Regions from separate parts of the Homo sapiens genome. Here all the other regions are linked to region 4. Evidence: promoter capture Hi-C in human tissues and cell types (Jung and others, 2019). All regions are on one chromosome and are shown on one strand. Each heading gives the region's core, a stretch centred on a gene start or on the middle of the fragment in contact. The rest is flanking DNA. Distances are from core to core; before and after follow the strand shown. Region 1 overlaps YTHDF1 (YTH N6-methyladenosine RNA binding protein F1). Region 2 holds the start of GID8 (GID complex subunit 8 homolog). Region 3 overlaps DIDO1 (death inducer-obliterator 1). Region 4 holds the start of LIME1 (Lck interacting transmembrane adaptor 1).

Evidence for each region. The method cuts DNA at HindIII sites, captures the fragments that hold promoters and counts their contacts. A contact is called where the count stands out against the background at its distance.
Region 1: a contact is called between a fragment that was not itself captured here and the fragment with the promoter of LIME1 in region 4, in 1 of the 25 tissues and cell types used here (liver).
Region 2: the fragment with the promoter of GID8 here is called in contact with the fragment with the promoter of LIME1 in region 4 in 1 of the 25 tissues and cell types used here (liver).
Region 3: a fragment that was not itself captured here is called in contact with the fragment with the promoter of LIME1 in region 4 in 1 of the 25 tissues and cell types used here (lymphoblastoid cells).

What each region holds. Positions count from the first base shown.
Region 1 is chr20:63,199,826-63,202,655 of GRCh38, reverse strand. It overlaps YTHDF1 (YTH N6-methyladenosine RNA binding protein F1), which reads left to right. Exons shown (of 5, transcript NM_017798.4): 4 at 1-369. Among named protein-coding and RNA genes, the nearest start is that of YTHDF1, 15 kb to the left of the region's middle. RefSeq lists enhancers at 2,134-2,735, 2,736-2,830. The HindIII fragment of the contact is 5,570 bases long and covers 1-2,830 here.
Region 2 is chr20:62,936,618-62,939,451 of GRCh38, reverse strand. It overlaps GID8 (GID complex subunit 8 homolog), which reads right to left and starts at 1,305. Exons shown (of 5, transcript NM_017896.3): 1 at 1,199-1,305. It also overlaps a transcript of DIDO1 not described here. RefSeq lists silencers at 935-1,064, 1,135-1,364, 1,735-1,784, 2,055-2,104 and an enhancer at 571-1,239. The HindIII fragment of the contact is 10,021 bases long and covers 1-2,834 here.
Region 3 is chr20:62,916,751-62,919,450 of GRCh38, reverse strand. The region is part of intron 1 of DIDO1 (death inducer-obliterator 1); the gene reads left to right. Among named protein-coding and RNA genes, the nearest start is that of DIDO1, 8.4 kb to the left of the region's middle. The HindIII fragment of the contact is 9,356 bases long and covers 1-2,700 here.
Region 4 is chr20:63,735,360-63,738,059 of GRCh38, reverse strand. LIME1 (Lck interacting transmembrane adaptor 1) reads right to left here and starts at 1,396. Exons shown (of 6, transcript NM_017806.4): 1 at 1,348-1,396; 2 at 413-527; 3 at 158-239; 4 at 1-87. The coding sequence starts at 510. It overlaps ZGPAT (zinc finger CCCH-type and G-patch domain containing), which reads right to left. Exons shown (of 7, transcript NM_181485.3): 6 at 2,496-2,700; 7 at 1,918-2,279. The coding sequence ends at 2,141. RefSeq lists silencers at 1-70, 141-360 and enhancers at 1-95, 295-1,211, 1,791-1,970. The HindIII fragment of the contact is 23,629 bases long and covers 1-2,700 here.

The sequences.
Region 1 (2,830 bases), core at 19-2,518, 540 kb after region 4:
AGCAGCAAGGGGCCCGTCTACCTGCTCTTCAGCGTCAATGGGAGTGGGCATTTTTGTGGGGTGGCCGAGATGAAGTCCCCCGTGGACTACGGCACCAGTGCCGGGGTCTGGTCTCAGGACAAGTGGAAGGGGAAGTTTGATGTCCAGTGGATTTTTGTTAAGGATGTACCCAATAACCAGCTCCGGCACATCAGGCTGGAGAATAACGACAACAAACCGGTCACAAACTCCCGGGACACCCAGGAGGTGCCCTTAGAAAAAGCCAAGCAAGTGCTGAAAATTATCAGTTCCTACAAGCACACAACCTCCATCTTCGACGACTTTGCTCACTACGAGAAGCGCCAGGAGGAGGAGGAGGTGGTGCGCAAGGTGAGGCTGGGTGTTGCAGGCAACTGCCATGCAGATGTGTCCTTGGTGCCGTACTTAGACCAGGTGGCCCGGTGGTGAGCAGATGCGGCAGGTCCGCCGAGCTGAGTCTCGTGACAGGCAGCTCCCAGTTGGCCGCAGGTGGGCGGGCCCAGGTCCTGGCAGCCTCGTGGGCTTTCCCTGCGGAGAGTACTGCTAGTAACCAGTGATGGTATTTGGGTAGATGTCACCGAACGACTTTGATCACTTTCCAATTATAATTGAATAATTGGGACCACAGTGTACACATTCTGTTTTTCTGTTACAAAGAATTTGAGGGTAACTTTCTCCTCTCCTTTTTGAATTGTGATACTTTCTGGAACAGTGCTTCCCAGCCTCCGTCCATGAGGAACACTTAGGTGATATTCACGAAGCACTGCGGTGGGCACGTAGGGCATCGAGACCCCACCTGGCCAAGGGCCCTTGCTTCCCAGGGCACTGTCCCTCAGTAGTTGGGAATCTCTGGTCTTTGATCTGGAGGTCGTTGCTTTATTTTTCTTTTAAAAACCCAGTATCCTGCAGTTTTTGGAAACAAACTCACTCCATCTAGGTCGTAAAGAAAATGGTGGTGGTGGGGTAGGTTTGGAATCCAGACATTTTATAATGACAAATATGGATCCTATATCAAAAATTCATTGACTGGGCCTTTTTGAGACAGTCCTGATTTCCTGGGATACTTGTAGCCAAACTCCTGAGTCTGTGCTGTCATGTGATGTCTGACGGGATTGAGTGTGTTTGCTCTTCAGAAGGGCTCAGATGCCCGTAAACTGGCACCAGCAATGGGAAAATGATGATGCTGACATACTTCATAATGCTTCCTTTATTCGAGAGAGTTCATCCTGAGATTCTCTCCTGCTTTTTAAAAAATATCCCTTCCTGAAATGTCAGTTGATAATAGATGGGTTTTCAGTGTTTTTTTCAGTTCTCTATGTTAAAGGAATTATTCACCTGTGAGCACCAAGTGTCCTAATGTATTTTGGGCAGAAAGGCGTGTACATGGCATATATAGGGATGTATAGAGTAGAGCCGCCTGCACTGTCTGCAGTCTTACATTATGCAAGTCCTGAACAACTTGGGGCTTGTAGAACTTTGGAAAAGTATCAGTCCCTCTCTTTTGTGAGAAAAGAAGTGGATGTCATTTATTTCCAGTTACTGAATTCTGAATTAGTTACTGAAATTCTGTGTTTTAGGTCTTTTTTTTTTTTTTAAATGGAGTTTTGCTCTGTTGCCCAGGCTGGAGTGCAGTGGCGCAATCTCGGCTCACTGCAACCTCCACCTCCTGGGTTCGAGTGATTGTCCTGCCTTAGCCTTCCAGGTAGCTGGGATTACAGACAATAGCTCGGATTACAGACTTTTAGGTATAAAATGAATACTGAATTGCTAAAGTTGCAGGGATAATTGCTAATGAAGCTTTAGGTCCTTAGCTGGCTAAACTGGAAGCTGGCTGTGTGTGTGTGCGCGCACAGTTTTTCTTCTTAAATACCGTAATACTTGGGTTTTCATAAAGTGTGCGGACTCCTGACCTGGTTGGTGTTTTTAAAACTCTAGTGTCCTACAACTTGCATTATAAAAACTTGATCTAGATAACTGCTTTTGTGTGTCGGGTTATGGGTTAAGCATCTTGGTAAGCGGCCTGCAGGGTCTGTGGGCATCTGCCTGCAGGCAAGATCCAAGTGTTCCTCAAACCACTGGGTGCTCCAAGGCGAGTCCAACAGAGCCGCTGGTGGAGCATCATTGGAAGGAACTTGGTAACCCTCCCCTAAACTGTTAGCCAAGCTGGAGAACTCTGGGCCCATATGGGTCAGTGTTAACATTAATTCATTTTATTGAAAGTGACAAATGAGAACCTGGTTTGTTAATGTTTGGTGGAATTTCAAATAGCTTTTTTTTTTTTGAGCCAATCTCACCGTCAGCCAGGCTGGAGTGCAGTAGTGCAATTTTGGCTCACTGCAACCTCAACCTCCGAGGTTCAGGCCATTTTCCTGCCTCAGCCTCCCAAGTAGCTGGGATCATAGGCGCCCACCACTGCACCCAGCTAAATTTTGTATTTTTAGTAGAGATAGGGTTTCACCATGTTGGCCAGGCTGGTCTCGATCTCTTGACCTCAAGTGATCTGCCCACCTCAGCCTCCCAAAGTGCTGGGATTACAGGTGTGAGCCACCGTGCCCCGCCTCAAATAGCTTTTTGTTTTTGTTTTTGAGACAGGTCTTTCTCCGTCTGCCGGGCTGGAGTGCAGTGACTTAATCACAGCTTGTTGTAGCCTTGACCTCCTGGGCTCAAGCGGTCTTCCTGCCTCAGCCTCCTGAGTAGCTACAGGCGTGCACCACCACGCCTGGCTAATTTTTGTATTTTTTTGTAGAATCAGTGTCTTGCTATGTTGCCCAGGCTGGTCTTGAACTCCTGGGCTCAAACAGTCTTCCCACCT
Region 2 (2,834 bases), core at 56-2,555, 800 kb after region 4:
ATGAATTAGTGAAATAAGGGGCGGGGGGGGCGGTGCTGGGGCACAGGGATATTTAAAGCCAAGAATTCAGCAAAGACCATAGGAAGAGCGTAGATAGGGAATGAGAATCGCCATTACTTGGAGGATGCCAACCTTGAAGGTAAAGCAGAGAAAGTGGCACCAGCAGAAGAAAACTTGATGTGGAGCGGCAGGTAAAGTGGAGGAGAAACCAGGAGTCGCTGTCACACACGAACACCCATCTTTCGTTGTCAACTGCAAAACTCACTGAGACCAACTTTTTATTCACGACAATTAATGGTAACTTAAGGACTCATTTTCTTTTTCTTTTTTTTTTGAGACAGAGCCTCGCTCTGTCGCCCAGGCTGGAGGGCAGTGGCGCGATCATGGCTCACCGCAGCCTCGACCTCCTGGGCTCAAGCGATCCTCCCACCTCAGCCTCCAGAGTAACTGGGACAACAGGAGCGCACCACTCTGCCTGGCTAATTTTTTTATTTTTAGCAGAGAAGGGAGTCTCGCTGTTGCCACGGCTGGTCTCGAACTCGCGGGCTCAAGTGATCCGCCCACTTCGACCTCCGCCACCGCGCCCGGCCCTAGGACCAACGTTAAGAGCTCCCTAGGAAAAGGCACCTTTTCTCTCGGCCCATTCGGTGATCGGCACTCACAGCGCTTCCACTCCGGGCAGTTACGTGCGCCCATGAAAAGCAACAACTTTGTAGAACTGGCCAGTCCTGTTAGCAGGAAGAACTCGGTAGTCTCAAACTCCAGCATAAAAAGATTCAGCAGAAGAAAACACCCGTGTGCTGAAGACTCCTACTTTCCATGCCACACTTTACATCCTCACCCGCTCGGTTTCTGCTTTAAAGCAGCAGATTTTATTAAAAAGACTTCGTTACGGACGTCGCTCCTCCACAGAGACAGCTACCGCCGCCCCTCAGGCTGGCCGGGACCGCCCCAGAACACCAGCGCCTGAGGCCGCGCGCCTGGAGGCTGAGCCCTGACTGCCCCCTGGGCACCGGCGCGGGGCGGCCGTCCGGGCCTGGACTCACTGCGCGCCCCAATTCCGCACCTGCCAGCGCCGGCGCTTCCAAGGCCCCCAGAGCGGGGGCGGCGCGCACCCCGGCCACATCCCGCCTGCCCGCCCGGCCCGGCCCCGGGAGACGCTCGGCCCGGCCGCCCGGGCCCGCCGCCGCCATCTTACCGTGCGGAACCTGCCTCCCGCGCTGCGCGGTCTGGGCGGCTGCGGCTCCGCAGCCTCTCCTGGGCTGGGGAGAGGTGGCGGCCGCCGGGGCGCCCGAGTAGAAGGAGGCAGAGGTGGGGGCCGCGGCGGAGGCGGGGGCGGGGGCGGGGGCGGGGAGCGGGAGGGCAGGCGCACCGGAGGCCGCCCCTCAGCACCTCTCGCGACAGCAAGAGAGCGCGAGAGCGCGAGCCGATGACCAATGAAGCGCCCCCGCGAGGGGGCGGGGCGGACGGCCTCCCGGAAGCGCGGAACCTCAGCTTCCGTACTTGCGCAGAACTCCCCTCGCGGCGACCACGCACTACGGGTTGGCGCCAGAGTCAAAAGGCGTCGGCCCTCTGGCAAGATGGCTGCTGCGGAGGCGTTGGAGCGCGGAAATCTGGAACCGGGATGGCGACGTCTACACTGAGTCGGAGGCGAAGGTCCCAGCTTTTTTCCTGTCGTTTGCGTGAGGCCGCACGGGGTGGGGCGGGGGAAAGGCGCCGGGTGTCCGCGGCCGCCCCTCAGACGGGGAGGGAGTCCCCTCCCGACCGGCGGCCTTCCAGGGCTAGTGTCCCTGAGGTCCAGGGAGAGACGGCTGACCCGAGACCGGGCTGGGCGAGAGCTGTGCTGTCTGCGCGTTGAAGCGAGTTCCCCCGCTTTACTCGAGATGTTGTTGAGCGCGTCCTCACTCGAGGCCAGGTGGGGAATCAGAAGGGCCCTGCCCTCAGGGCGCCTCCCATGGGCTACGCCGAAGGGCGGGACGCGGCCAGGGCGCGCGGGACAAAGGAGACCCCACTTGCTTGCGGGGCGGAGTCCCGGCGGCGGCGCGGGGCAGGGCCGGGGTTACTCGGTGACTGGAGACCCTCCCGGCAGGAGCGCGGGTTGAGGCCGCACTTGGGTATTTGCGCGTTTACTTGCTTATTGCCTGTCCGCTCAGGAGGAATGCGAAGTCTGTCATTGCAGGGTCCCATGTTTCCGTTGCTGGGAAGTACCTTAAAATATTTGATAGAGCCGAAGGAAGAAATAGAGTCCTTGAGGGGCAGCTCCTGATTTCATCTGTGAGGAATTCACGGGACGGCTTCTTTCTGAAGTCAGGGGTGAGGTGGTTTCGTGTGTTTGCTTACAAGCGAGCTGAACAACGTGTAAGCTATGTCGGTCGGTCTACTCAGCGACAGTAAGTCCAGTTCGGCAAATAGGTTGGAGGAGACTGATTTTGGACATTTTCCGTTAATCGAAAGAGCTAAATCTGCAGGTATAAGGTCTTGACAAAATTATGCTTCATATGCAGAGGCAGTACATGCCAGTAATTTTTTCATTTGCAACTACATAACCCTATGGGAAACAGTTATTGGTCTTTATTTAGTTATTTATTTTGAGACGAAGTCTCACTCTCGCCCAGGCTGGAGCGCAGTGGCGCCATCTCGGCTCACTGCAACCTCCGCCTCCCGGGTTCAAGCGATTCTCCTGCCTCAGCCTCCCGAGTAGCTGGGACCACAGGGGCGCACCACCACGCCCAGCTAATTTTTGTATTTTTAGTAGAGACGGGGTTTCCCCTTGTTGGTCAGGCTGGTCTCAGTGTCTTGACCTCGTGATCCGCCCGCCTCGGACTCCCAAAGTG
Region 3 (2,700 bases), core at 88-2,587, 820 kb after region 4:
CTCCTGCCTCAGCCTCCCAAGTAGCTGGGACTACAGGCACCTGCCACCAAGCCCTGCTAATTTTTGTGTTTTTAGTAGAGATGGGGATTTCACCATGTTGGCCAGGCTGGTCTCAAACTCCTGACCTCAGGTGATCCACCTGCCTCAGCCTCCCGAAGTGCAGGCATGAGCCACCGCACCCGGCCCAGAATAATTTTTGTAATGACGGTATTATTTGGTAAGCAGCAAAACTTTGAATTTGCCGTCTGAAGGATTTAAATGTAATCTATGCAATTGAGTCAGATTCTGCATAGATACTAAAGTAAATGAAAGTTGGGCTTCTTCAGTTCCTTGTGGGCCCAAATCTCTTTCCTGTTTGGTGAGTGCAGCACAGTGTTTCCTGCCGCAAGCTGGTGGAGCTTTGAGTGGGCCATCATGGTACATGAACGGCTGCTGCTGGTGGCTGGAGAACACGTCGCATTTGGGGATGTCATCTGAAGTTTCTAGGCATATTCTCCTAGTGACTGTCGCATTAATGAAAACTGAGCTATCAAGAGTCTTTCATTGGGTAATCTTTCCTTCATTTGTGGTAGTTTAAAGATCTTTTACCTAGTGTCTTCTCAGTTGCTCCTCATCTGCATAATAAACAGATTGATGAGCCAGGAGACCCTTAATAGGCAAAATATAAATAAATGTAAACTTTGGCCTACCCTGTCAGAATTAGCGAAAATAATGAAGTTTAGAATAGTGAGGTTTTATTGTAGCATTATAATTTCTGACTGGCGGGTTAAAATTGTTTTGAATATTGTTTCAGGGGAATGTGAGGTTTGAAGAAACAGAATGTTTGCCACTAGGTGAGGTAAACTATGCATTTTTGTTTTATCTTTTTGCTTAGAAGTCAGAGCTCTTTTCCTGGAGGTGCGATGTTATGAAAATAGAAACTTAATTATGGTTGTATGTCATATTTTAAAGTGTCTTGGAGATTAATTACTCAGAAACTAGTCTCAAGTTTTTGGAACTGAAAATCTTTAGGTGGGAGCTGGGCACTGTGGCTCACGCCAGTGGTGTCCCAGCTACTCAGGTTGAGGCAGAAGGATCGTTTGAACCTATGAGGTAGAGGCTGCAGTGAGCCCTGATCATGCAGCTGTACCACAACCTGGAAGTGGGCACGCTTGAGTTAATGACTTCAAGCAGATTTTAGAGTAGTAAAAGTTGAGCATACAGATTTGCAGTGGTTGCAAACCCATGCATTGTAATAGTTGCAGTTAGGCTTTTTAAAGTAACAGAGCTGACCTTTTGGGAAGATATTTTTATTTGGTTTTTAAGAAATTTCACTTTTGGCTGCTTACTGTTTTGGTGAGTTGGGGAATCTGAGGGAAGATTAACAGGTAGTTACAGAACCCTTGTGGAAGGAAATGTTTAAAGTCTCTTCTGATGTCTGAAGCATAGGTATGTATTACTGCTTTGCACATATCCAGTGTACTCCTAAACTGGTAGAAATGGCATGTTGCCACAGTTCTTTGTGTTTCATGGACTCCTGAGGGGGAAGTCCTTGAAGCCCTTTCTGGGGCTAAGAGGTAAAGATGACTTCTGCATAATAATAGTCTAATAGTACAGGCCTTTTCTGGTGAGTTTGACATTTGCATCGGTGGCACAGGGCAGATTGGAGCCCTCTTCAGCACCGTGCATGGGCACCGAATGTTTAGAATATGCCAATTTTCCCAAATAATGTCCCTGATGATGCAGTAAATATTAATTTTTTTCGGAACCCGCAAACATACATCTTTTTTACTTTCGCTGTGATTAAATGTCAAGTTATATATAAAGCTTCTGCTGCATCCCCACGTGGTACTGTCCACGCACAGCCCTAGGGGATTGAGCTGGGAGCCGAGTGGTCTCGGAAACGCTGTCTGTCCCTGACAGAACAACAGACGGAGGACAGTTTTCAGACTCAGCATGTGGCAGGCGTTTTGTCCAAAACGAGTGATGTCTCAAAGAAAAAACGAACAGTATTTGTTGCTAAGGATAAAATTTGAGCTTTGGGGTGAAAATTGGAATTTTAGAAAACTTGTATCTGCCATTGTAAACCTGATGGCTTTCTAGTAATTAAAGTCTTCTTGGAGATTGGACCCGACATTATCGGCCAGGTGAGGTGACTCACACTTGTAATCCCAGCACTTTGGAAGGCGGAGGTGGGTAGATCACTTGATCCCAGGAGTTTGAGACCAGCTTGGGCAACATAGTAAGACCCTGTCTCTACAAAAAAAAATGCAAAAATTACCTGGGCATGGTGGCATGCACCTGTAGTCCCAGCTACTGGGGAGGGTGAGGTGGGAAGACCGCTTTGAGCCTGGCGGTGGTGTGGGTGGGGGAGGTGCTGAGGCTGCAGTGATCCTTGATTGCACCACTGCACTCCATCCTGGGCAACAGGAAAAAAAATGTTTGTTTTATGCTATCCGATGAGATGTGTGGACATTGAGAATCTGTCTGTTACTTGAACCCGTGTCATCCAGGTGAACAGCATGCACATGGGTCCAGAGTGCAAGGACGTGTTCAGAGTGAACACAGCAGTCAGTTTTCATGAAAGAAAGGGAGAAGTTCCTTGACAAAGGCTGCAAATTCTGTTTCAGCTAACTTTTATGAAACTGCTCCTTGGCGAGAGTTGGTGTAGTATCAGTGAACATCCAGTTATGTGAAGATGGTTACAATACTCCATTCTAA
Region 4 (2,700 bases), core at 147-2,646:
CCTGCTGCTGCGCGGGCCCCGGTGCAGCTCGTGCAGTCTGGTGTCCGACTTGCTGAGGGAGCAGAGGTGGGTCCGCCTCAGTAGGGACTGGGGGCGAGGAAGGCTGGTCGGTGCCCTGCGGACCCCACCCTGGTCCCCGGGACAGCCTGGCACTCACCGCTTCCGCCGCCGTCGCACTGCCCTGCAGCCTCGCCCGCTGCCTCCGCGCCCTCTTCCTGGGGGCTACAGCGTCCTCGGGCCTTGGGGGTAGAGGTGGGGGGCGGGGGGCGGGGTCGTCAGCCTCGGGTCCAAGGCCCGGTGCAGGCGCGCGTGCCGAGCTGGGTGCGCGGACCTGCCTCCAGCCCCTTCCCGCGCTGGGCTGTGAATGGCAGCCGCAGCGAGGCCCCAGACAGAACGCGGCTGAGGGACCTACCTGCGGCAGGCTGTGCACAGCGCCCACAGCGAGAGGAGCAGGGCGCAGCACCCTAGAACCCAGAGGGCAGGAGGGGCCCAGGACACTGGCAGCCCCATCCTGTGAAGCCGAGGCCCTGGGGACAGAAGAAAGGGGCGCTGGGGGCTGGCCAAGGGGACCTGGCGCCACCTGGCAGCCCCAAATCTGCACCTCCCGCGGCTGCGGGGCTCCTGCGTCTCCCGTTCCAGCTCTGACTCAGCACAGGAAGCCCCAAGGCCTGGCAGTCCCTCCCTCCCAGAGGTGCCCACCTTCTGGCGGGGGCTCCCGGTGAGGTGAACTAGGGCTGCTCTGCCTGGCCCCTCCGTGTCCCTGCGGGTGACCACGGTAACACCCAGCACGGCCGTGAGGAGGGGCAAGACAGCTGTGGCCACCATAGCCCAGATAGTAACCAGCATCGGGGGAGCCCCTGGGTGTGCGCCACAGGCCACAGACTCCACCTGCAGCCACCCTCTGCCCAGACATGGTCTCCTGTGTCAGGTAGTGCCCCCAAGCCGCTCGCTGCGGAGCCCAGAACTGGGAAGAGCTGGAGGCTGGTCAGCAGGAGGGACCCTGCACCCGGAGGAGCTGGAGGCTGGGTCAGCAGGCAGCAGCAGCTGCTGGGGGTGCTGATGCCCCCACCCCACTTCTCTCTGGCTCTTCTTGTCTGCCAGTGTCTCTGCCAGAGAGGATCTGTCCCCTTCTTGGGGATCTTAGCAGAACTTCTCGGGGTGGGGGATGCCTTACAAACAGCACAGTCCAGCAGCAGAGACAGAAGCTGGGGGGTGAGGGGTGGTCTCTGGAGTTTGGGGCCAGTCTGCTCAGACCCAGGGAGTGGGCTTCAGCCTGGCTGACTGACCCAGCTGCAGCCACATCCCAAGGCCTCCCAGACCCCAGCTGCCCCCCAGGAGGGCACTTACCAAGCCCACGGCCAGGGGTCCTCAGCTCTGTCTGGGGCAGGCCAGGAAGGTCTTTGTGCAGCCCTCGGCTGAGCTCCCCACCTCATCACTTCCTGCTCCTGTCGCCAAGCGCCTCCCCTGAGCCTCCCACCCTGGGCAGCAGCCACCACCGCAGCCTCACCCACCTGCTGCGCCCCGCCCGAAGCCTAGATGAAACGTGTGCGCCTCTAGCCCGCACTGTTCTGACAGCCTAACTCACAACCCCTCCACACACGAAGACGTGAGCAGAGCTGGCACAGAACCCCCAAACCCACAGGGCCAGGTCCGCCTGCCTCACCAAGAGTGCCCCACGTGGTGGGCCACAGTCCTCTCCCGCCCGTCTCGCCCGCTGGAGCAGCACTGAGCTCCACCCATCTGTGGGTGTCAGGCAGCCTGGCGGGCACCCTGGCCTCCGATCTGCCTTGGTCAGAGAAGGGTAAGAAGGGAGAATGCCGGCCTCCTAGGCCCCTCCAGCCCAGCCCGTCTCTCACCACAGCCCTGCACAGACCCTTCTCTCCCCAGAGACCCTGCAGCCAGCTGATCTCCACTGAATGACACTGTGATGAAATCACTTTAATGTCCTTGCCAAGGAAATGCCCAAGACACTGGCAGGTGGGCAAGTAAGTGTCCAGATGGGACCCCGCAGCTCTGTCTCCACTCAGCAGTGTCTGCACGCCCCAGGCCAGCAGGCCGGCCCCTCCTCGGGCAACACTGGTCTTCCTGAGGGCAGCCCGTGCTGGGGTCCCACGCTTCGTCCATAGTGCTTGTGGGGTCTCTAGAACTCAGTCATCTTCTTGTGGGTGTCTGCCTTCCTCTGCTCCTGCTGCAGGCCGGCTTCCTGAGCCCGGAGCTGCCCCAGCTGGCGCTGGGCTCCTGCCAGCTTCTCCTGCAGCTGGGCTGACGCCACGCTATGCCTGCGGAGGGGCTCACTAGTCAGCGTGGGGTCCTGGGCCATGCCACCAACCCCAGTCTGCCGTACCCACTGCCTGTGTGCCCGCTGCCCGTCCTCCAACATGCAGACCCCTCCTGGACTCAGCCCGCTATGCTTGGGTCAGGTGACCTCCAGCATGTATCCCGGGGGCAGGGCCACCCTGGGTCGCCCTTTGCCCTGAGCTGGGCCCCACACGTACCGGCCAGCGTTGCGGGCGAGAGCCTCCTGGATGCTCCTGATGTCCCGCTGGGTTCGCTCGATCTTCTCCTCAGTCTGGAAGAGCCGCAGGCTCAGGGCCCGCTTGGCACTCTTGCTGGCATGGTACATGTCCTTGCTCCTCCTCCCCGCTGGGGCCGCCCCGGCTTCTAGGGCCCCAGGAGCCTGACCTTGCAGCTTTTCATTGA